7 separate regions of the Homo sapiens genome follow, and all the other regions are linked to region 3. The links are contacts of gene promoters, found by promoter capture Hi-C in blood cells and fetal thymus (Javierre and others, 2016). All regions are on one chromosome and are shown on one strand. Each heading gives the region's core, a stretch centred on a gene start or on the middle of the fragment in contact. The rest is flanking DNA. Distances are from core to core; before and after follow the strand shown. Region 1 overlaps ALG1 (ALG1 chitobiosyldiphosphodolichol beta-mannosyltransferase). Region 2 overlaps MGRN1 (mahogunin ring finger 1). Region 3 holds the start of GLYR1 (glyoxylate reductase 1 homolog). Region 4 overlaps UBALD1 (UBA like domain containing 1). Region 5 overlaps MGRN1 (mahogunin ring finger 1). Region 6 overlaps NAGPA (N-acetylglucosamine-1-phosphodiester alpha-N-acetylglucosaminidase). Region 7 holds the start of C16orf89 (chromosome 16 open reading frame 89).

Region 1 (2,700 bases), core at 25-2,524, 240 kb after region 3:
TAGCCACAGATCATCTGTAGATTAAGGGGTGTGGCTTTGTTCCAATAAAACTTTATTTACAAACACAGGCTGTGGGCTGGATTTGGCCTGCAGGCTGTAGTTTGTGATCCTTGATTCAGACAGTTTAGCAAGGCTGCAAAGAACACCGACACCCCCTTGTTACCCACAGATGGGTGAGACTGCGTTGGCCAGAGGCCGAGAGGAGGGTGCTCACAGGGGAATGGGCAGCACGTAGAGGCCGGGAGGTGCTCCAGGGCACCAAGTGTGGGAAAGTGGGACATGCGGGGAAGTTTCCAGAAACTGTGATGTCAAGTTGGAGGCGGAGTGCTGCTGGGGTGTGAAGGGTCTCGAGTCCAAGTGAGGGAGTTAGGGACTTGGGAGGGGTTGTTGTTGGGTCGGGGACCTGGGGTCAGCCAGGTGGTGACCTGGGATGGGGTGGGGACAGGCAATGAGGTAAGCTCTGCTCTTTATTTTTTTGCAGATGCTTTTCTCAAACTTTCCTGATCCTGCGGGCAAGCTAAACCAGTTCCGGAAGAACCTGCGGGAGTCGCAGCAGCTCCGATGGGATGAGAGCTGGGTGCAGACTGTGCTCCCTTTGGTTATGGACACATAACTCCTGGGCCAGAGGCTAAAACCCCAGGACCCCTGCTGTCCTTCCCGCAGCTTCTTCTTGGAGTCTCAGGGCAAACCCTTTCGAGCAGCACCTCCCAGTGGCCAGAAGCTGAAATGACAGCAGTGGTACTGCCTGGTAAAAGAATTGGTTCTGTGACCCGGGAAGCTTTGGTTGGCCTTGATTTCTTCTCTGGAGGCTTGGAAACGCTTCCTCTCTTCTTCTGTTCTTCACGCCCCATGCCCCTGCTAGCGTATTACTGTTCTGTGACTTCCCTGTGACCTCTGCAGAACTCCTCATCCTGCGTTTGGTCTCCAGGTGTCCCCTTTCTGCCGTGTTCCTAACATTTTGATTCCTGTCTTGAAAAAAGCACCTGCTGCACCGTAAGCCCAGGGATGTGGCAGCTGCAGTGGGCTTGGCTTTGTGAGGAACTGAGTGTGTCCACGTTGGGGGAACATCATACTTGATACACACGTTTTTATTTGCACAAAGAAAATGCTATTTTTGGAGCCAGAATTTTCATGTCTGATTTATGGTGATTTTCTTAAGAACCAGAACTGCTGGCAGAAAGGGGGCACCCACACGCTTAGATAGCCGATGTCTTATTAGAGGGCAGTTTGTGGTTCCTGATTTGGAAATTAACATTCTCCAAACATTCCAGTCCAATGAAAGTTTTATCCGCTTTCCCATATAAAAATTCTTCCCATGAGAGTGACTTGATTCTCACAATCCCGTTGGAGTCGTGTGTGAGTCCTACAGGGTGAGATTCAGCATTGCCATCTCCAAGTGCTCTTCGTAGGGAAACAGTTTCTGCTCATGACGAGGTTCCACTTCCCATCTGATCCCGGCCCGGCCTGGAAACAGAGCACATGTGTTTGAGGATGGCGGTGTTTGGGGACAGGACATGAGGGTATTGTGTGGGGCTGCTAGGACAGGCCTGGCGGGGTAGGGGGGTGTCCAAGTCAGTTTACTTGGTTCACAGGTTCCCAGGCCCACCCAGGTGCCTAGAATTGGCCTCCAGGATGGGACCAGAAAGCTGGTTTTGCATAGAAATGGCTAGCAGCAGGCACCGTGCCGCTGTCCACTCTCTGCCTGTGTCTGCCCCAGCACTTGGCACAGCGGGACAGAAGCAGAGATCTGAATAGTCAACCCACTCTTCACAAAGCTTAGAAAGCGGCCGGGCACAGTGGCTCATGCCTGTAATCCCAACACTTTGGGAGGCCAAGGCGGGCGGATCACTTGAGGTCAGGAGTTCGAGACCAGCCTGGCCAACATGGTGAAATCCCATCTCTACAAAAATACAGAAATTAGCCAGGCATGATGGCGAGTGCCTGTAATCCCAGCTACTTGGGAGGCTGAGGTGGGAGAATTGCTTGAACCCAGGAGGTGGAGGTTGCAGTGAGCTGAGATTGTGCCACTGCACTCCAGCCTGAGTGACAGGGTGAGACTAAGTCTCAAAAAAAAAAAAAAAAAACCACACGCACCACACACACACCCACACACACACACAGCTTAGAAGGGGCTGCTGTTCTCATAAGCACAGATGTCTGAAGAGCCGTTAGCCAGAATGATTCTTTTTTTTTGTTTTGAGATATGATCTTGTTCTGTCACCCAGGCTGGAGTGCAGTGGCACAGTCATTGCTCACTACAGCCTCGACTCCTGGGCTCTAGCAATCCTCCCACTTCCTGAGTAGCTGGGATGACAGGTGCGTGCCACCATGCCAGTAATTTTTTTATTTTGTAGAGATGGGGTCCTGAACGCATGGCCTCAAGTGATGCTCCTGCCTCAGCCTCTTTTATTATTTGTTTTTAGACGAAGTTTTACTCTGTTCCCCAGGCTGGAGTGCAGTGGCACAATCTCAGCTCACTGCAACGCCTCCCAGGTTCAAGTGATTCTCCTGCCTCAGTCTCCCGAGTAGCTTTGACTATAGGCGTGCACCACCACGCCTGGCTAATTTTTGTGTTTTTAGTAGAGATGGGGTTTCACCATGTGGGCCAGGCTGGTCTTGAACTCGACCTCCCGTGATCTGCTCACCTCAGCCTCCCAAAGCCTCAGCCTCTTACAGTGTTGGGATTACAGGCGTGAGACA
Region 2 (2,700 bases), core at 113-2,612, 220 kb before region 3:
AACCCGGAGCGCGGCAGAGGTTGCAGTGAGCCGAGATTATGCCACTGCACTCCAGCCTGAGCGACAGAGTGAGACGCCGTCTCAAAAAAAAAAAAACAAATAGAAAGAAAAGAAATCTTTGCCTAGGTCAAGGTCACAAAGATTTTCTCCTATTTTTTTCTAGCATTTTGTTGTTGTTGTTGTTGTTGGTTTTTTTTGAGATGGAGTCTCCCTCTGTCACCCAGGCTGGAGTGTAGTGGCATGATCTTAGCTCACTGCAGCCTCTGCCCGGGTTCCAGCGATTCTTCTACCTCAGCCTACTGAGTAGCTGAGATTACAGGTGCGAGCCACCACGCCCGGCTAATTTTTGGATTTTTTAGTAGAGACGGGGTTTTCACCATATTGGCCAGGCTGATCTCAAACTGACCTTGTGATCTGCCTGCCTTGGCCTCCCAGATTGCTGGGATTACAGGCGTGAGCCGCTGTGCCCGGCCTTTTCTAGAAGTTTTATAGTTTTAGCTCTTACATTTAGGTCTTTGATCCATTTAGAGTTAATTCTTTTTTTTTTTTTTTTTTTTAATTTTGAGATAGGGTCTTACTCTGTCATTCAGGCTAGAGTATAGCGGCATGATGTCACTCTAGCCTTGACTTCCTGGCTCAGGTGATTCTCCCACCTCAGCCTCCCAAGTAGCTGGGTTTTCCCAGCTATGTATGTGTACCACTATGCCCAGCAAAGTTTTTGTATTTTTTTTGTAGAGACAGGGTTTCACCGTGTTGTCCAGGCTGGCCTCAAAGTCCTGGACTCAAGCAATCTGCCCACCTTGGCCTTCCAGAGTGCTGGGATTACAGGTGTGAGCCGCTGTAGCTGACCAAATTAATTTGTTTCACTTATGGCTTGAGATAAAGATCTAAACCCCCCTTTTTTGTGGATGGAATTCAATTATTTTAGTATCATTTGTTGTAGAGACTATCATCTTCCCATCAAATTGCCTTTGCACCTTTGTCAAAAATTAGTTGACCTAAGCCAGGCATTGTGGCTGGATAACAAAGCAAGACCATGTCTCTTAAAAATCAAAACAACAGCGACAAGAACCCCACCAGTTAACCATGAATGTGAGGGTTTATTTTGGGACTCTCCATTCTGTTCCATTGATTTATGTGTGTCCCAGAAGTTCTCAACTGGGGCATTTTTGCCCTCTCAAGGGACATTTGGCCATGTCTGGAGACATTTGTGATTGTCACAGCTGGGGGCATCTGTTGGGTAGAGGCCACAGGACAGTCCCCCACAATTAAGAATAAATCGGCCCAGAATATCCATAGTGCTTAGACTGAGAAATCCTGGTCTGTTCTTAGACCAGCAGCACACTGGCTTGTTTACAGTAGTTTGATAGTAAGTTGTGAAATCAGGTAGCATAAGTTCTCCAACTTTGTTCTCTTTCAAAATTGTTTTGGTTATGCTAAGTTCTTTGCATTTCCATATACATTTTATAATTAGCCTGTCAATTATTTCTACAAAAGCAGCCTGCAATTTTGATAAGTATTACATTGGATATATAAATCTATGTGGTGAGAATTGCTGTCTTTACAGTGCTGACTCTGGGAATCCATGAACATGGTATATCTCTACATTAATTTTGATATTTAGCTTCTCAGTTGTTTTTTTTTTTCAGATAACTTTACCTATTTAAGGCAAGTGATATTTGCCAATCTATTACTGATATATTGCCTTCCCAATCTAGTAGTGATAAAAAATTTCCTTTTTTTTTTTTTTTTTTTTTTTTGAGATGGAGTCTTGCTCTTGTCACCCAGGCTGGAGGGCAATGGCGCAATCTTGACTCACTCCAACCTCTGCCTCGCAGGTTCAAGTGATTCTCTCCTGCCTCAGCCTCCTGTGTTGCTGGGACTACAGGTGCATGCCACCACGCCCAGCTAATTTTTGTATTTTTAGTAGAGATGGGTTTCACCATGTTGGCAGGGATGGTCTTGATCTATTGACCTTTTGACCCGCCTACCTCAGCCTCCGGAAGAGCTGGTATTACAGGCATGAGCCACTGCGCCCGGCTATTCTTAATAACAGTTTTGTTGAGATCTAATTCACAGCATACGAGTCACACTGAGAACATCTAGTCCAGTGGTTTTTTTTGTTTGTTTGTTTGTTTTTGAGACGGAGTCTTGCTCTGTCGCCCAGGCTGGAGTGCAGTGGCGCAATCTCTGCTCACTGCAAGCTCTGCCTCCCGGGTTCACGCCATTCTCCTGTCTCAGCCTCCTGAGTAGCTGGGACTACAGGCACCCGCCACTACGTCTGGCTAATTTTTTTGTATTTTTAGTGGAGATGTGGTTTCACCGTGTTAGCCAGGATGGTCTCGATCTCCTGACCTCTTGATCCGCCCGTCTCGGCCTCCCAAAATGCGGGGATTACAGGCATGAGCCACCGTGCCGGGACCAGTGGTTTTTGGTATACTTGTGTTGTGCAGCCATCACCACTGTCTAATTCCAGAACATCTTCATCACACCAAAAAGAAACCCAGTGGCCATGAAACAGTCACTCACGGCCAGGCGTGGTGGCTCACATTTGTAATCCCAGCACTTTGGGAGGCCAGGGCAGGCAGATTACTTGAGCTCAGAAGTTTGAGACCACCCTGGGCAACACGGCAAAACCTTGTCTCTACAAAAAATAAAAAAATTATCTGGGTGTGGTGGCGTCCACCTTTAGTCCTAGCT
Region 3 (2,700 bases), core at 139-2,638:
GCTAAATTCAGACTAGAATTATTTCCGGGGTTAAAAAAGAAACTTCATAAACCTCCTCTAAATCCAGAAATAAGGGTTTAGAGAAGATTTAATGATCTGGTGTATACTGCATTGCCTTTTAAAAAATAACCGATACTAGGGGAAAAAAAATTCTAAGTGCCATCTGAATGAGCCCAATTTAACTCAATACTAGAAACTGAGAGGAATGCATCTTACATTCTCCACCTCTTCAAACCCAACTTCAGATCTCTTCCTTTAGTAGCAAGACACTCACCTTTCCTGGCCAAGGAGGATATCGGCCGAGTTTCCCCCTAGAGAAAACACAAAGAGTCAACACTTGCCCTGCAAAAGCCAGTCCATCTCCTTCAACCCACTCAATACGCAATTTATTTTCCTAAATCTCTGCTGGCATCCTCAAATGCCGAAACAAAAGCTTTCATAGCTGGGCCCAACACCCTCAGAAGTAAAATGCAAAATTGTATACTTATGTGCACAACGCATATCCATTCTTCTGTTGACAAGGAATACAGAACAACACAACTGTCAAAAGTCACTTGTCTAGAGCTTCTTAATGACGGGGGTGGGAGGACAGCTTCCTCTGTAAACACAGACTTTCCCTCCCTAAGTCTGGTTTAATTCAACAGGAGACCTGCCTGGCTTTGACAAATGCTAATGGAAGCCTTCCTCTGGGTGGAGAAACAAGCTACGCAGCTCGAGGGAGGCGGCGACAAAGTCTTGGTTCGGGCGGTTGTCTGGGACACAGAAGCAGACCGCGGGAGGCACCCAAGCGTGCACTGGTCACTGCCAAGCCATCGGTTGTAAAGGAGAAGTCCCCCCGCCGTTTCTTCGCGGGGCAACGCCAGCAGTCCGGTTTAGACAACCCCGGCTGAGCCGGCCGCACAGGTCGGCTGCATCGCAACCTGGGCTTTGACCGAATGGCACCGGCCAGATCTCGCAGGTCCGGTCCCCGGCGCTTCTGCTTTCTGGGAAGCCCCAACAAGACCCCGGGGACCGGTCGTCCGGGGAAGCCTCGCGGCACCGGCGGCTCCCTTCACGGGGGCCGCCAGTATCTGGGCCCCGAGTGCAGACCCCACCCGGCCGGCCTCGGGGATCAAAGCCGGTGCCCGACGTGGCCACCCTCGGCCTCGGTCCCCCGGGACTGGACTGCCCCTTCCGCCTGGCGCCGCTCGCAAGCGCCGGCACCTTCTCTTCCCCTCTCTCCGCGACCTGGAGCGCATAAAAAGGCAGCTCCAGGGCCGGCAGCGAACCCCGCGCCCAGGCGGGTAGCTCCCCGGCGCGTCTCGGTTGGCCCGGCCGCTCGGACTCACCACACCAAGTCGCCGAGCCGCAGACTCACAGCCGCCATCTTACCACCCAACCACCGCCGACGCACGGGCCGCCGGGAACAGCAAGTCGCCCCGGCGCCGCCCATTGGAGTGGGCCCGACCACGTGACGGGGGCCGGCTGTCACTGGCCACGCCGCTACTCTGACGTCACCGCGCCCGCCGGGGATCATTGGTCGACCGAGGGGCACGTGACGCGAGCGCCGCGGTCTCCGCGCGCCGGAGCGCAGAGACTCCCGGCTCCTTCCCCCTCCCTTCGGCTCGTGACAACGAAGCGCCCGCGGTCTGAGGCGGCGGCGGCGGCGACGGTGCGACCGGCTGAGCGCGAGAGGGAGCCGGCCTCGCGGCTCGCCCCGCCCCCGGGTCTTGGACTCCGCGCCCCTCCCCTCTCGGCGCTTCCGTTACGCCCGTTGGTCCGGCGCGGGCCCCGGGGCCATTCCCGAGCCCGAGGCGCTGGTCGGCCCCGTCGCAGCGCCAGTGAGCTACCCTGACGGAGCTCGGCGCGGCCTGGAACTCAGCCTCCGCCGGGTCTGGGCTCCCGCGCCCGGCAACTCTGCTTGGCCGCAGGCCGGGAGGCCCCGGTGTCCGCGCCCGTCCGCTCCCGCCGCCCGTGTTCTTTGGAGCGCTCCTCCCGACGGCCGCTTTCGGAGGCGCCGTCTGAGCGCGGGGTCCCGCGCCGCAAGTTCTCCTGGGGCGACCGGAGGCTGCTCCCCCGACCCCCTGGTGTCCCCGGAGTGGCTGCGCGGACGTCGAGTTGGCATTTCTTCGCTTCCTCCTGGGCCGGCGCGCGGCGCGGCACACCAGGCTCCCCTGGGCTCGGGGACCCGGCCATGGGCCGAGGCGCGGGCCGCCCGCCCGCTGGGAGCCACGGCTTAGCAGCCGACCGCTAGCTGCGCCGCCGCCCGGGGACCGGCATGAGGACCGCCGCGGGGGGACGTCTGCGGCCCGCGTCGGCGCTGGGGACAAAGGTGCGTGTCGTTGTCGGGTCCGGGCTCTCTCGTTAGCCTTGCCCTAGTTTTGCACTTTTGAAAAAGTTGTGACAACAGGAAGACAGATGCCGGGCGTAGTTTGGACACTTTAAAACTGAACCATGAACTGGGAAGTGTTAACTGCAGTTGAGCGCAGCGTCGGCCCAAACTTCAGCAGACCAGGTAGAATCACAATTTTGCAAAAGATCCCAGTCCCGATCACAGACTCCACAGTGTTAAGGATTGACTTAGACTTGGTGTCGGGCTCTTGTTGAGTCACTGCCAGCTGGCAAAGGTGGCGAGTCGACACGCATTTCCCCAAGGCATTGTGGTGGTTAGAGATTTCGGTTGCAAGTCGGTGTTTAGCGTACTGGGTCGTCCCGCAGCCT
Region 4 (2,700 bases), core at 201-2,700, 240 kb before region 3:
TCCAGGGCTCCGGGGAACAAGGGGTGCAGACAGAAAAGGGGTGAAGGGGGCCCGCAGAGACGTCCTCTCCCCCGCCCCACGGGGTCCTGGCCTCCGGGAGGGGGGAGGGGCCTCCCTTATCTCTCTGCCTCCATGGCAGGGTGGGCCCTGGGTTCTGAGGTGGCCTGTTGGGGGGCCAGGGGTGGCCAGTCTGAAGCCGGAGAAGGGGGTGTTGGAGTCCACAGGGGCGGCTGTGGCTGGTGGTGCTGTGGGCCCCCCGGGGGCGAGGCCGCCGTGGGCCAGCTGGAGGCCGCAGAGCTGCTGGTGGCGGCATGGGGGAAGTGTGGCGGGGGTGACGTGGCTGTCGCGGCCATCGGGCTGCCGCTGCCACCGCTGTGGAAGCTCTCGGAGGCCTTGAGACGGGAGAACATGGTGAGAGCGTCAGGGAAGTTGGGGGGTGTAGCAGGGGTATTGGCGGGGGTGCACATCTGTGAGGGGAAGAGAGGAGAGATGGGGTGAGCACCCCTTCCTGGAGGGGCCCCCACTGCCTCCCAAGGGGAGATGCGTGGCTGGCCCATTCTCGGAAGGCTCTGTGTTCCTTCCCCAGATCCCCAAGCCTGTCCGCCGCCCAGGGGTTCCCAGAGGAGAAGCCTTGAGATGAACCGACCCAGCCTCACTCTCAGGAGCCCACGGTGCCTGGGGCCACGAGGCTTTCCCAGCCCACCCCTTTCCATCAGCCACAGCATCCCCGGGGGCTGTAGGGTAAGGAGCTTCATTGCCCCAGAGGCCAGCGCCCCCCAGGTCTCAGGGGGAGCTGGCACAGGCAAGATTAAGTGCAGGACCCACGGAGCCGGGACTCCTGCTGACCCATCTCCAAAGAGGTCGAGCCCCGCCTGCACCAGCGCCCTCGTACACCGGGGCCAGGGGCTGCTTATACACAGAACTAGCTCGGCCTCCTTCCGCCCAATCCAGAACTGGGGACTCCGGGGACACTTACCATCTGGTGGTGATGGTGGCTGTAGGGGATGTTGGTCTCCTGGAAAAAGGCGCTGAGGGCTGTCTGCAGGAAGAAAGGCCCCTGCTCACCCTCCAGGCCCCCGCCGGCCCTGCCGCTGCCCTTGTTCCCAGGCTCCTCTGAGGCTGGGGATGACCCTGGCTGGACTGCTGAGTGGGAGGGGTGAGTCGCGGTGCTGAGGCTCAGTGGCTTGCCTGTCACCCCCAACCCTCACTGCTGTCTAAGGAGGAGCCACGGAACCTTGGGCAGTTGGGGTGGGTGGAGAAGACCCTTCCCCTGCTGCTCGCCACCTGCCTCAGTGCCTAAGGCCTGCAGAGCCCTCCCCCTGCACCAGCTGGCACCAGCACCATGACTGGGGGAGGGCGGGCAGTACACCCCATCCTGGGGGAAAGGCGCCCGGCCCCAGGTAGCCCAACCAGACCTCCCCACCCTGCCCCGTTTCAGGAGATTCTAGCCTGGCTGTTACCACCTCAACGGGTAGCAAGTCTCTACTCTTCTCTAAGCCTCGGTCTCCTCATCTGCGAAGCAAAAGCATCCTGAAGGAGTCTGAGCCTGGTGGTGGGGATCCCCTGCTGCCCCACCCAGCTCTGCTTCTGGCTGATCAAGGGGGCCACTGTTTGGGCCTTGGTTTCTCCATCTGTACCACAAAGAGGTTCGACTAGGTGGCTCCTGGGTCCCCTCCCTTGCAACAGTGACCTCCTAAGATCACCAGATTCCAGCAAGCAGGGCCTGGCACCAAGGAGACAAGCCTGGGCTTTAGGCTCACTCGCTTCCCCACCTGAGCCTCCCTCGGAACAGTGCCCGGGAAGTGGAGCAGAAAGACGGCCCTAGGATCAAAGCCACCACGGGTTTACGACAGCTCCCAGCACAGCTCCCCAGCCACCCGCCCTTGGCTGGCACCACGCTAGGCACGGGATGCTCCACCGTCTCCCTCCACACCCGGGCCGCATGCCACACTGAGCACGGTGCGGGCACCCAGCAGGGCTCCATCCCAGCGGGGCCGTGGACTGTCATCATTAACCCCACAGGCAGGGACTGCTGTCTTACAGGCAGGGAAATGAAGGTAGGAAGTGACTTGCTCAGGGTCAGCTGGTCGGCAGAAGACAGAGATGGGGGCGCTCAGAAAGGCCAGGACAGGTGGGGGAGACAGAGCGAGCCTGGAGCCCTTTCCTGTGTGTGTCAGCTCAGCAGGCTCCAGAGGTCCTTGGTGACTGGGAACTGAGGAGCCCCAGAGGGAGGCGCTGGGATTTGCTATGTCCTGGCTGAGGCCCTGCAGGGGTGGGGAGGCCTGTCCCAGGAAACGGAGGCTGCTCTTGCGCAAGGGCCAGTGAGGGAGCCCCACAAGTATTTGAGGGGTTCTCGGGGCCCTGCCAAGTCCCAGGCCCAGACTTGGAGCTTCAAGCCGCCGAGGTGCCCCTACCGCCACCCCTCAGGCCCACTCCCCTAATGCCAGCTTGACTTCCTGGCCCTCCCAGGCCCAGCACACCCAGAAATCCAGCCTGGCTCCTGGGGCCTGCCCTCGATCAGGGGGTATGGGTGGGAGGCTATTTAGATTTTTTTTTTTTTTTTTTTTGAGACGGAGTCTCGCTCTGTCACCAGGCTGGAGTGCAGTGGCGTTATCTGGGCTCACTGCAACCTTTGCCTTCTAGTTCAAGTGATTCTCCTGCCTCAGCCTCCCGAGTAGCTGGGACTACAGGCACGTGCCA
Region 5 (2,700 bases), core at 169-2,668, 200 kb before region 3:
TTGTCTGCCAGCAGCTAGTGCGGGGGTTCCCAGCAGCCGAGTCCTTCATGTGGTTTTCATGAACATGGTGCACATCTTGGAGGAGCAGGCAGGTGGCTCTGGGCCGGGCCCTGTCTCAGCCCTGCTCCATGACTGGGGCTTGAGGTTGGTCTGAGGCCAGCATCCGGAGACCACCGTGCCCTGAGGCACGGGGTGCCTTGTGGCCCCTGGCCCCGCCCCGTAGGCTGTGTGGAAAATTCACCTTTAAAGACTTTGTGTATTTCAATGTGGTGGGGCTATGTTCAAGGCCCAGGTAATCAGGGAAGGCATCCTGGGCTCACTGTACTGCAGGTGTTCTTTCTTTCTTTTGATTTAAAACCACCACATAGGCTTTGCTCCACCCCTCGTCTGCTCTGCACCAATTTCCCTGGCAGCCTTGTGGGCGTGTCCTTCCAGAACATTCTCTGTGTATTCACAATTTGTGTTGCGCACATCTCAGTGCGTGCGGTGACCCCTCAGAAAATGATCTTGCAGTGTGTTAACTTGTTTTCTTTAACCTGCAAATACTCTGTGACTCGCTCCACATCGGTATGTCTGGATCAGCTTGGTTCCAGCAGCTGTGTGGTGGGCCATAAAATCAGGGCGTCCCACTTGCTGAAGCAGTTGCCGCTTTCTTCTTTGTTTTTGGTCGTCATCAGCTCTCAGTGGTCCCTGTTCTGCATGCTGGGTTAGGTGGGGCTGCGGCTCCCAACCACTGTTCCTGGCAGTCAGCAGCCATGCTGGGCACCTGGCTCTGGGCCACCTCCCTCAGGAGGAGCACCCTGGAATCACTGTTGGGGCCCGGCTGGTCTTGGTGGCCGTGGCTGTGCCAACTGTAACTGGGGCCGTGGTTCTCGGGAAGGACACAGACCATGCAGCGCCTGAAGGTCTCAGAATTCCCGCTGAAGGCCCCGGGAAGGGCCCACCTGGCCTCAGGTGGGAATTCTGAGAAGGAATAGGGATTCTGGGGCCCCCAGTGGGAATTCTGAGAATTCCCAGAAGTCCCTGCAATACGTGAGGTTGAGGACCATGTATTCTGAGCATCCTTGAAATCCACAGGTCCCTGCAGCTACCCGGGTCCTCCCCTCGGAGACTCTTCCCGTGGTCACCCGGCTCCTCCTCCCGGGGACTCTTCCCGTGGTCACCCGGCTCCTCCTCCCGCGGGCTCTTCCCGTGGTCACCCGGCTCCTCCTCTCGGGGACTCTTCCCGTGGTCACCCGGCTCCTCCTCCCGGGGACTCTTCCCGTGGTCACCCGGGTCCTCCTCCCGGGGGCTCTTCCCGTGGTCACCCGGCTCCTCCTCTCGGGGACTCTTCCCGTGGTCACCTGGCTCCTCCTCCCGGGGGCTCTTCCCGTGGTCACCCGGGGGCTCCTCCCGGGGCTCTTCCCGTGGTCACCCGGGTCCTCCTCCCGGGGGCTCTTCCCGTGGTCACCCGGGTCCTCCTCCCGGGGCTCTTCCCGTGGTCACCCGGGTCCTCCTCCCGGGACTCTTCCCGTGGTCACCCGGCTCCTCCTCCCGGGGACTCTTCCCGTGGTCACCCGGGTCCTCCTCCCGGGGGCTCTTCCCGTGGTCACCCGGCTCCTCCTCTCGGGGACTCTTCCCGTGGTCACCCGGCTCCTCCTCCCGGGGCTCTTCCCGTGGTCACCCGGGTCCTCCTCCCGGGGCTCTTCCCGTGGTCACCCGGGTCCTCCTCCCGGGGCTCTTCCCGTGGTCACCCGGCTCCTCCTCTCGGGGACTCTTCCCGTGGTCACCCGGCTCCTCCTCTCGGGGACTCTTCCCGTGGTCACCCGGGTCCTCCTCTCCGGGGCTGTGTGCCAGGAGAAATGGGGCTGGATCTGGGCGTCAGGTCAGGAATCCAGGGGAGAGGCCATGCTCTCAGTGTTCCTTGGCAGGGCTGTGAGCGCAGGTCTCTGAGGATGCCCAGCTGTCCATCCCCTCCTCATAGGAGAAGCGCAGATCTCATGCCTAAGTGTGCCAGGGTCCTGATGGGCGCCACCTACAGCCTCCCGCCCTCACGCGGGAGTCAGACTGAACGAACTAGCCCAGATCCACAGAGACTTCTAAACCCGGCTGGGTGCTGCCATGGAAAGTACACAGGGCTCAGATTTGGGGGTAAGGTGACTTAGCCTGGGGTCACGAAATGTGTAAGGATTTCTTGGGGTGGCTGTGACAAATGACCTCTAACCGTGGCTTGAAACAGCAGAAATGTATTCTCTCACCATCACAGAGGCACACGTCAGAAACCGAGGTGCCAGCAGGGCCACGGTCCCCGAAGGCGCTGGGGGAGGACTCTTCCTTACCTCTCCCCACTCCTGGGGCCCCAGGCACTCATTGTCATCCCTGGGCTTGTGGCCGCATCACTGCAATCTCTTGCCTCCATCTCTTCCCTTGGCCTTCCCTTCAAGTCTGCGTCCAAACCTCCCTCTCCTTTCTTCTGTTAAGAACCAGTCACTGGATTTAGAGCCCCTCAATCCAGTATGACCTCCTCTTAACTTGATTACATCTGCAAAGACCCTAGATCCAAATAAGGTCACATGCACAGGTAGGGGCTGGGTGTGGAGTAGGACCCGAACTTCATCGGAAACACAGCTCAGGCCACTACAGAAGAAAGTGGTGTTGGAGCTGGATGCTGGCTGATGGGCTGGGAGCAGCGAGGAGCCGTCCAGGGAAGGGTGTTGAGGC
Region 6 (2,700 bases), core at 33-2,532, 180 kb after region 3:
AGGATCTCAAGATAAGACCGTGCTGGATTTGAGGTGGGCCCTGGAGCCAGAGCCCGGGGACCCTTGTTTTAGCCGAGCCCTTTGTGGAACGGGCCGCAGCAGCCACAGGGGAGTCACACAGTGATGTGCAGGTGAGGCCGGGGCAGAAGACAAGAGGCAAGCATTTCCCAGACCAGAAGGTGGAGACAGAAGCAGCAGAGGAGCAGTGGGGGCTGCCGGGGGCCACCGTCTCCCCATCCGCTAGTGGCGTGGCAGCTCCTACCTTCACTGCAGTTGGACCCGGTCCATCCGGCATCACAGCGGCAGCCGGCTGCCGAGACAAGACCGGGGAGGCCAGGTGAGGGCCTAGGGCAAGGCAGGGCTGGGCAGAGCCCCCTCCCCAGAACCCCCACTCACTCTCCGTGCACAGTCCGTGCTGGCTGCAGTTAGAGGGGCCACAGTCCAGCTCATCACAGCCGGGACCCCGCCAGAAGTGCCCGGTGCATTGGCAGTGCCCGTCCACGCAGGTCCCGTGGCCGTGGCAGTCAGGCGGCTGGCAGCGGGGTTCGTGCACACACACCACGGTGGACACTTGGCGGGGACAGCGCCACATGTTGTCCTGGCTGTAGAGGGATGTGATGTGTGAGGAGAGGACACCCCCAGACGGCCCCTCAACTCCCTCCAGGCTGCCCCCAACCACCCCTCTCTCCATTCTCACCTGTCTACCTACCTACCTACAAGATGGCGTCTATCTATTTTTGAGATGAGGTATTGCGATCCTTCCACCCGAGCCTCCTGAGCAGCTGTAACCGTAAGGTGTGCACCATCACGCCTGCCTAATTTTTTTTTATTTTTTCATAAAGACAGGGTCTATGTTGCCCACACTGGTCTTAAACTCCTGGGCCCAAGCGAACCTCCCACCTCGGCCTCCCAAAGCACTGGGATTCCAGGCGTGAGCCCCTGTGCCCAGCCCTCTCCAGTCTTTTATAGGTTCCTCCGCTCCCTACAATCCCTCCCAGCCCTGGGCCTTTCACATGTGGTGCCCTCTGCCCGGAAGGCTCTCCCACCCCCACCCAGCTACCACCTCCTTCAGATCTCAGTTCTTATTCTGTCATCCTCAGGGAGGTCTTTGCTGACCAACTGACCCTGCTCCTAGGCCTGGGTAGTACTGGCATCCTGGGGGAGGGACTGCAGCAATTTCTGCTCTCTTGAACCCCCGGGGCCTGGCACATAGCAGGCACTCAATATTGGCTGAATGAGACAGGCTGGGGCAGACCTGGACTTCAGCCCTCACGAAGGCGGCTCTCACGTGCTTACCAGTGATCTGACGGGTAACTGGCCAAGGTCCCGTTGAGCACAAAGGTGGCAGAGCCACCCCCATCCAGGTTGATGGCGTTGACCACGTCCTGTTTCAGCAGGAACTCCGCCATTTCCCACAGGTTGATGCTGCGGCACAAAGCGGCGCTGCTCAGGCTCAGCGCCCACCATCATTTCTCATTTAACTCCTTTTCCTTCCACAGTGCAGAGCATCACGCCCACAGTGCAGGCACATTTCTAAGTGGCCCCCGCCCCCAAGCATGTCTCATCCTAGCCCCCGGAAGCTGTGAACACGTGAGATCACACCCATGCCTGTGCTGTTACATGGCATAGGAATCCTTAAGGGAGGGGAAACGGCCCGGAGGATCTGGGTGCAGCCACTGGAATCACAGGAGTGTTCAACACAGAGAGCCTTCTCTGGCTGGTGACAGAATAGGAAGTGAGATTTGAAATACGAGGGGGATGAGAGGGTGGCCGGACAACTGGGGGAGAGGACACACATGGGAAGGAACCTGGGCAGCTTGAAGGAGCTGAGGCCCCAGATGGCGGCCAGCAGGGAAACCAAGACCTCAGTCACAACTGAGGAGGCGACGGGGATTCTTCCAACAACCTAAACAAGAGGATTCTTTCCAGATAAGAGAAGAGCCCTGCCTAACCAGCATCTTGGTTTTGTCCATGGGACACCCTGAACATAGAACATTCCAAGTTGACCAGCCTGGCCAACATGATGAAACCCTGTGTCTACTAAAAATACAAAAATTAGCCAGGTGCGGTGACTCACGCCTGTTAATTCCAGCACTTTGGAAGGCCGAGGTAGATGGATCACCTGAGGTCAGGAGTTCGAGACCAGCCTGGCCAACATGATGAAACCCCATCTCTACTAAAAATACAAAAATTAGCTGGGTGTGGTGGCGGGTGCCCGTAATCCCAGTTACCTGGGAGGCTAAGGTGGGAGGATCACCTGAACCTGAGAGGTAGAGGTTGCAGTGAGCTGAGATTGCACCACTGCACTCTGGCCTGGGCGACGGAGTAAGACCCTGTCTCAAAGAAACAAACAAACAAAAGAACATTCCCTGCTGAGTGTTGCTAAATTTGTGCTGGTTATGCAACCAGAGCAAACCAAAACACTCTCTTTACAGGGGCTAGAAATGAGGCTCAGGGAGGCCGAGGGACTTGTCTACGGCATAGGTGGGTAGACAAGTCATCGATGGCTAAGCTGGGATTGGAACCAAGATCTTCTCCCTGCTCACTTTGTGACCATTTCCTTGTATCCTATCTAGGGTTCAGGAAAGGTGAGGCCTAAAGCTGAAGATGATGAGTTCTTGGAATCGGCAAAGATCTCAGAACCCTCATCCTGTGGGAAGGTGAGGGGGCCCTGGGAGGGGGGACAGATAGGTGTCAACA
Region 7 (2,700 bases), core at 76-2,575, 220 kb after region 3:
CTCCCTTCTGGGCACAGTTCACGGGTGTGGTTGTATTAAGCACTGAATTCCTAGGGAATCTGTTATGGAGCAAGATTATTGAGAGGAGAAGGGGCAGTGGATGTGGGATGTGGCGTGGGTGGAGAAGCCGGGCTCACTGCAGCTGCCAAGGAGTGGGGACCCTGGTCTGAGGCTGTTAGGTGGGGCCGCTTTCCCAGTGAATGCTGCCCAGTCATGATTAAGAGAACCCCCTCCCTTCTTTGCTAAAAGAGGATAATAATAATGGGTGTAACCTCAGGGATGACGGGGAGAGGGCACTGAAGTACCCCATGCAATGCACCTGGGTTGTGCCCACATTGAGCAGATACTTAGTGAACTACAGCTTTTGCTATCACATGCGCCCCAGGAAGCACCCAGCCCTGTGGGAGCCACCTGTGTGCTTGTGTGTGTGTGTGATATGCTTGTGTGCATGCGTGCATGCGTGCTTGTGTGTGTGATGTGCATGTGTGTGTGCGTGCGTGCATGTGTGCTTGTGTGTGTGTGCATGATGTGCGCATGTGTGTGTTTACCTTGGCCTGTCTCCAGCCCCCTTCTTGGGGATCTTATAGCTCTCAAAGCTAAACAAACACTTGACTGTTTTTGCAGAACCTTCAGGAGACTTTGGCTGCAAGTGGAGGAAGTGGGGTGGGAACCCGATCTTGAGGGTCCTCAGTTTTGTCCACAGCCACCTCATTCAAGGGGAGGGGTCTTCCCACAAATATCTGTTAACGGGGCACTCTCCCTGCTCCCCTTGTTCGTGGCGTTGTGAGGAGGGGCTGTCAAATGGATCATTTCATTCTGAGAAAAAGATAATTCCCAAATCCCTTCCCATGTTGCCTTTAAATCTTTCCTACTTCTAAAAAATTGCGTAACAGTTAGCTGGGCCACAGCCGCCAGGAAGATCCAGCCCCTGGCCTCCTCTCTCCTTATAGCCGAGGCAGGCTATACTGGGGCCAGGAGTCTGCCAGGTCCCAGGCGTACAGAGCAGGGCAGGGGACAAAGCTGAGAGCTAGCTTCCCAGTGTCCAGCCAGAGGAATTGGGGCTCACTCACCTTCCAGCACTCGGACCCCCACCATGCCATCCAGGTTGATTTCAGGCAGCCTCTGTTCTAGGAAGACGGTGGCTCTCTCCAGCGCAGACAGGATCAGGTCTGCAATGGTGGCTTTACTTTCAGCAGTGTCCAGCCCAGGCAGTGAGGAGGACCACAGCGGTGGCAGTGCTGTCAGTAAGAGCAGGAGCAGCAGCCCCAGGCTGGCCATGGCCGGCCTCTGCTCACTGCTGGTCACACGCTCAGCACCCTGAGCTCTGGCCAAGCCCAGACTGCCTCTGCACGCCCTCCTCCCACCTCCTTCCCACCTCCCCCTGGCAGACATGAAGACAAGTGGCCCGGCAGGGCTGCCAAGAAGCCTGGGGTGGCCTGGGCAAAGGACTCTGGGAAGGGTGGCTGCAGGGGGATGACGGTTAGGCAGCGGAGGTTAGGCCAGTCCTGGGCGTAGAGCCTGCTGTCCACGGGATGCTGGGGAGAGGGCTGCCCGCCCTGTCCTTCTCAGCCCTGATTCTCCAGGCTCACAGGCTAGATCTTTGATCTAGCAATTGCAATTCAACCCAGAAATCCAAAAGCTCTGAAAGCAAAACGAATTTTTTTTTCTTTGTTTTTTGAAATAGGGTCTCATTCTCTTGCCTAGGCTGGAGTGCAGTGGTTTGATCACAGCTCACTGTAGCCTTGACCTCCTGGGCTCAATAGATCCTCTTGCCTCAGCCTCCTGAATAGCTGGGACAATCGGCATGTGCCACCATGTTGCCTAATTTTTGTAGCTTTTTTTAATAGAGACAGGGTCTCACTATGTTGATCAGGCTGGTCTTGAACCGCTGGCCTCAAGCGAGCCACCTTCTTTGGGCTCCCAAAGTGCTGGGATTACAGGCTGGAGCCACCACACCCAGGCTTTGTTTTAAATAAATTTGAAACAAACTCATTTGAGGGCACGTCTGCCTTGAACTGAGGCAAACTTCCTTAAAGGGGCACCGTCCAATTGAAATAGAATTGGAGCTACAAAGATGAGCCATGTGTGCATTTCGAAATTTCCTAGTAGCCACATCTAAGAAAGCAGCAATAAGCAGGTGAAGTTAATTTTAACGATCTAGTTTATTTGACCCAGTTATTTAAAATATTATAATTACATCTGTAATCAATATAGAAATGATTTGTTTTTATTTTTGTCATACTAAGTCTTTGAAATTGATGAGTAGTTTATGTTCACAACACAATTGTTTTATTTTGTTATTTTATTTTTAAGAGACAGGGTCTCATTCTGTTGCCCAGGCTGGAGTGCAGTGATGTGGTCATAGTTCACTGCAGTCTCGAGCTCCTAGGCTCAAGGGACCCTCGCGCTTTAGCCTCCCAAGGAGCTGGCACTCCAGATGTAAGCCACCATGCCAGGCTAAGCACATTTCAATTCAGACTATCCATATTTCAGGGGCTTGATAGTCACATGTAGCTGGTATACTGGGCAGTGTCTTAGTTTTGTGCTACTACAACAGAATACCTGAGACTGAGTAATTTATAAAGAAAAGAAATTCATTTGGCTCATAGTTCTGGAGGCTGGGAAGTCCAGGTTCAAGGGGTTGCATCTGGTGGGGGTCTTCTTGCTATATCATCCCACGGTGGAGGGCAGAAGGGCACG

What was found. The method cuts DNA at HindIII sites, captures the fragments that hold promoters and counts their contacts. A CHiCAGO score of 5 or more calls a contact.
Region 1: a fragment that was not itself captured here is called in contact with the fragment with the promoter of GLYR1 in region 3 in 1 of 17 cell types (M2 macrophages); the score reaches 5.9 in M2 macrophages.
Region 2: a contact is called between a fragment that was not itself captured here and the fragment with the promoter of GLYR1 in region 3, in 1 of 17 cell types (neutrophils). The highest score is 7.4, in neutrophils.
Region 4: a contact is called between a fragment that was not itself captured here and the fragment with the promoter of GLYR1 in region 3, in 3 of 17 cell types (neutrophils, fetal thymus and endothelial precursors). The highest score is 6.6, in neutrophils.
Region 5: a contact is called between a fragment that was not itself captured here and the fragment with the promoter of GLYR1 in region 3, in 3 of 17 cell types (erythroblasts, neutrophils and megakaryocytes). The highest score is 6.3, in erythroblasts.
Region 6: a fragment that was not itself captured here is called in contact with the fragment with the promoter of GLYR1 in region 3 in 6 of 17 cell types (megakaryocytes, M2 macrophages, M1 macrophages and 3 more); the score reaches 22.6 in megakaryocytes.
Region 7: the fragment with the promoter of C16orf89 here is called in contact with the fragment with the promoter of GLYR1 in region 3 in 1 of 17 cell types (M2 macrophages); the score reaches 6.5 in M2 macrophages.

The regions. Positions count from the first base shown.
Region 1 is chr16:5,084,269-5,086,968 of GRCh38, forward strand. It overlaps ALG1 (ALG1 chitobiosyldiphosphodolichol beta-mannosyltransferase), which reads left to right. Exons shown (of 13, transcript NM_019109.5): 13 at 482-2,700. The coding sequence ends at 613. It overlaps EEF2KMT (eukaryotic elongation factor 2 lysine methyltransferase), which reads right to left. Exons shown (of 8, transcript NM_201400.4): 8 at 16-1,464. The coding sequence ends at 1,364. Among named protein-coding and RNA genes, the nearest start is that of EEF2KMT, 12 kb to the right of the region's middle. RefSeq lists an enhancer at 1-872. The HindIII fragment of the contact is 997 bases long and covers 777-1,773 here.
Region 2 is chr16:4,630,272-4,632,971 of GRCh38, forward strand. All of the region lies in intron 1 of MGRN1 (mahogunin ring finger 1), which reads left to right. Among named protein-coding and RNA genes, the nearest start is that of MGRN1, 6.8 kb to the left of the region's middle. The HindIII fragment of the contact is 6,629 bases long and covers 1-2,700 here.
Region 3 is chr16:4,845,900-4,848,599 of GRCh38, forward strand. It overlaps GLYR1 (glyoxylate reductase 1 homolog), which reads right to left and starts at 1,389. Exons shown (of 16, transcript NM_032569.4): 1 at 1,329-1,389; 2 at 275-311. The coding sequence starts at 1,366. UBN1 (ubinuclein 1) reads left to right here and starts at 1,582. Exons shown (of 18, transcript NM_001079514.3): 1 at 1,582-2,311. RefSeq lists enhancers at 833-892, 1,193-1,252, 1,548-2,390 and silencers at 1,443-2,162, 2,173-2,262. The HindIII fragment of the contact is 6,120 bases long and covers 432-2,700 here.
Region 4 is chr16:4,609,517-4,612,216 of GRCh38, forward strand. It overlaps UBALD1 (UBA like domain containing 1), which reads right to left. Exons shown (of 3, transcript NM_145253.3): 2 at 977-1,039; 3 at 1-467. The coding sequence ends at 117. Among named protein-coding and RNA genes, the nearest start is that of UBALD1, 4.0 kb to the right of the region's middle. RefSeq lists an enhancer at 1,586-2,221. The HindIII fragment of the contact is 5,022 bases long and covers 1-2,700 here.
Region 5 is chr16:4,647,127-4,649,826 of GRCh38, forward strand. The region is part of intron 1 of MGRN1 (mahogunin ring finger 1); the gene reads left to right. Among named protein-coding and RNA genes, the nearest start is that of MIR6769A, 23 kb to the right of the region's middle. RefSeq lists an enhancer at 24-523. The HindIII fragment of the contact is 6,118 bases long and covers 1-2,700 here.
Region 6 is chr16:5,027,584-5,030,283 of GRCh38, forward strand. NAGPA (N-acetylglucosamine-1-phosphodiester alpha-N-acetylglucosaminidase) reads right to left here. Exons shown (of 10, transcript NM_016256.4): 5 at 1,297-1,425; 6 at 397-602; 7 at 263-310. Among named protein-coding and RNA genes, the nearest start is that of NAGPA-AS1, 4.8 kb to the right of the region's middle. RefSeq lists an enhancer at 864-2,063. The HindIII fragment of the contact is 6,851 bases long and covers 1-2,700 here.
Region 7 is chr16:5,064,631-5,067,330 of GRCh38, forward strand. It overlaps C16orf89 (chromosome 16 open reading frame 89), which reads right to left and starts at 1,326. Exons shown (of 8, transcript NM_001098514.3): 1 at 1,071-1,326. The coding sequence starts at 1,278. The HindIII fragment of the contact is 15,659 bases long and covers 1-2,700 here.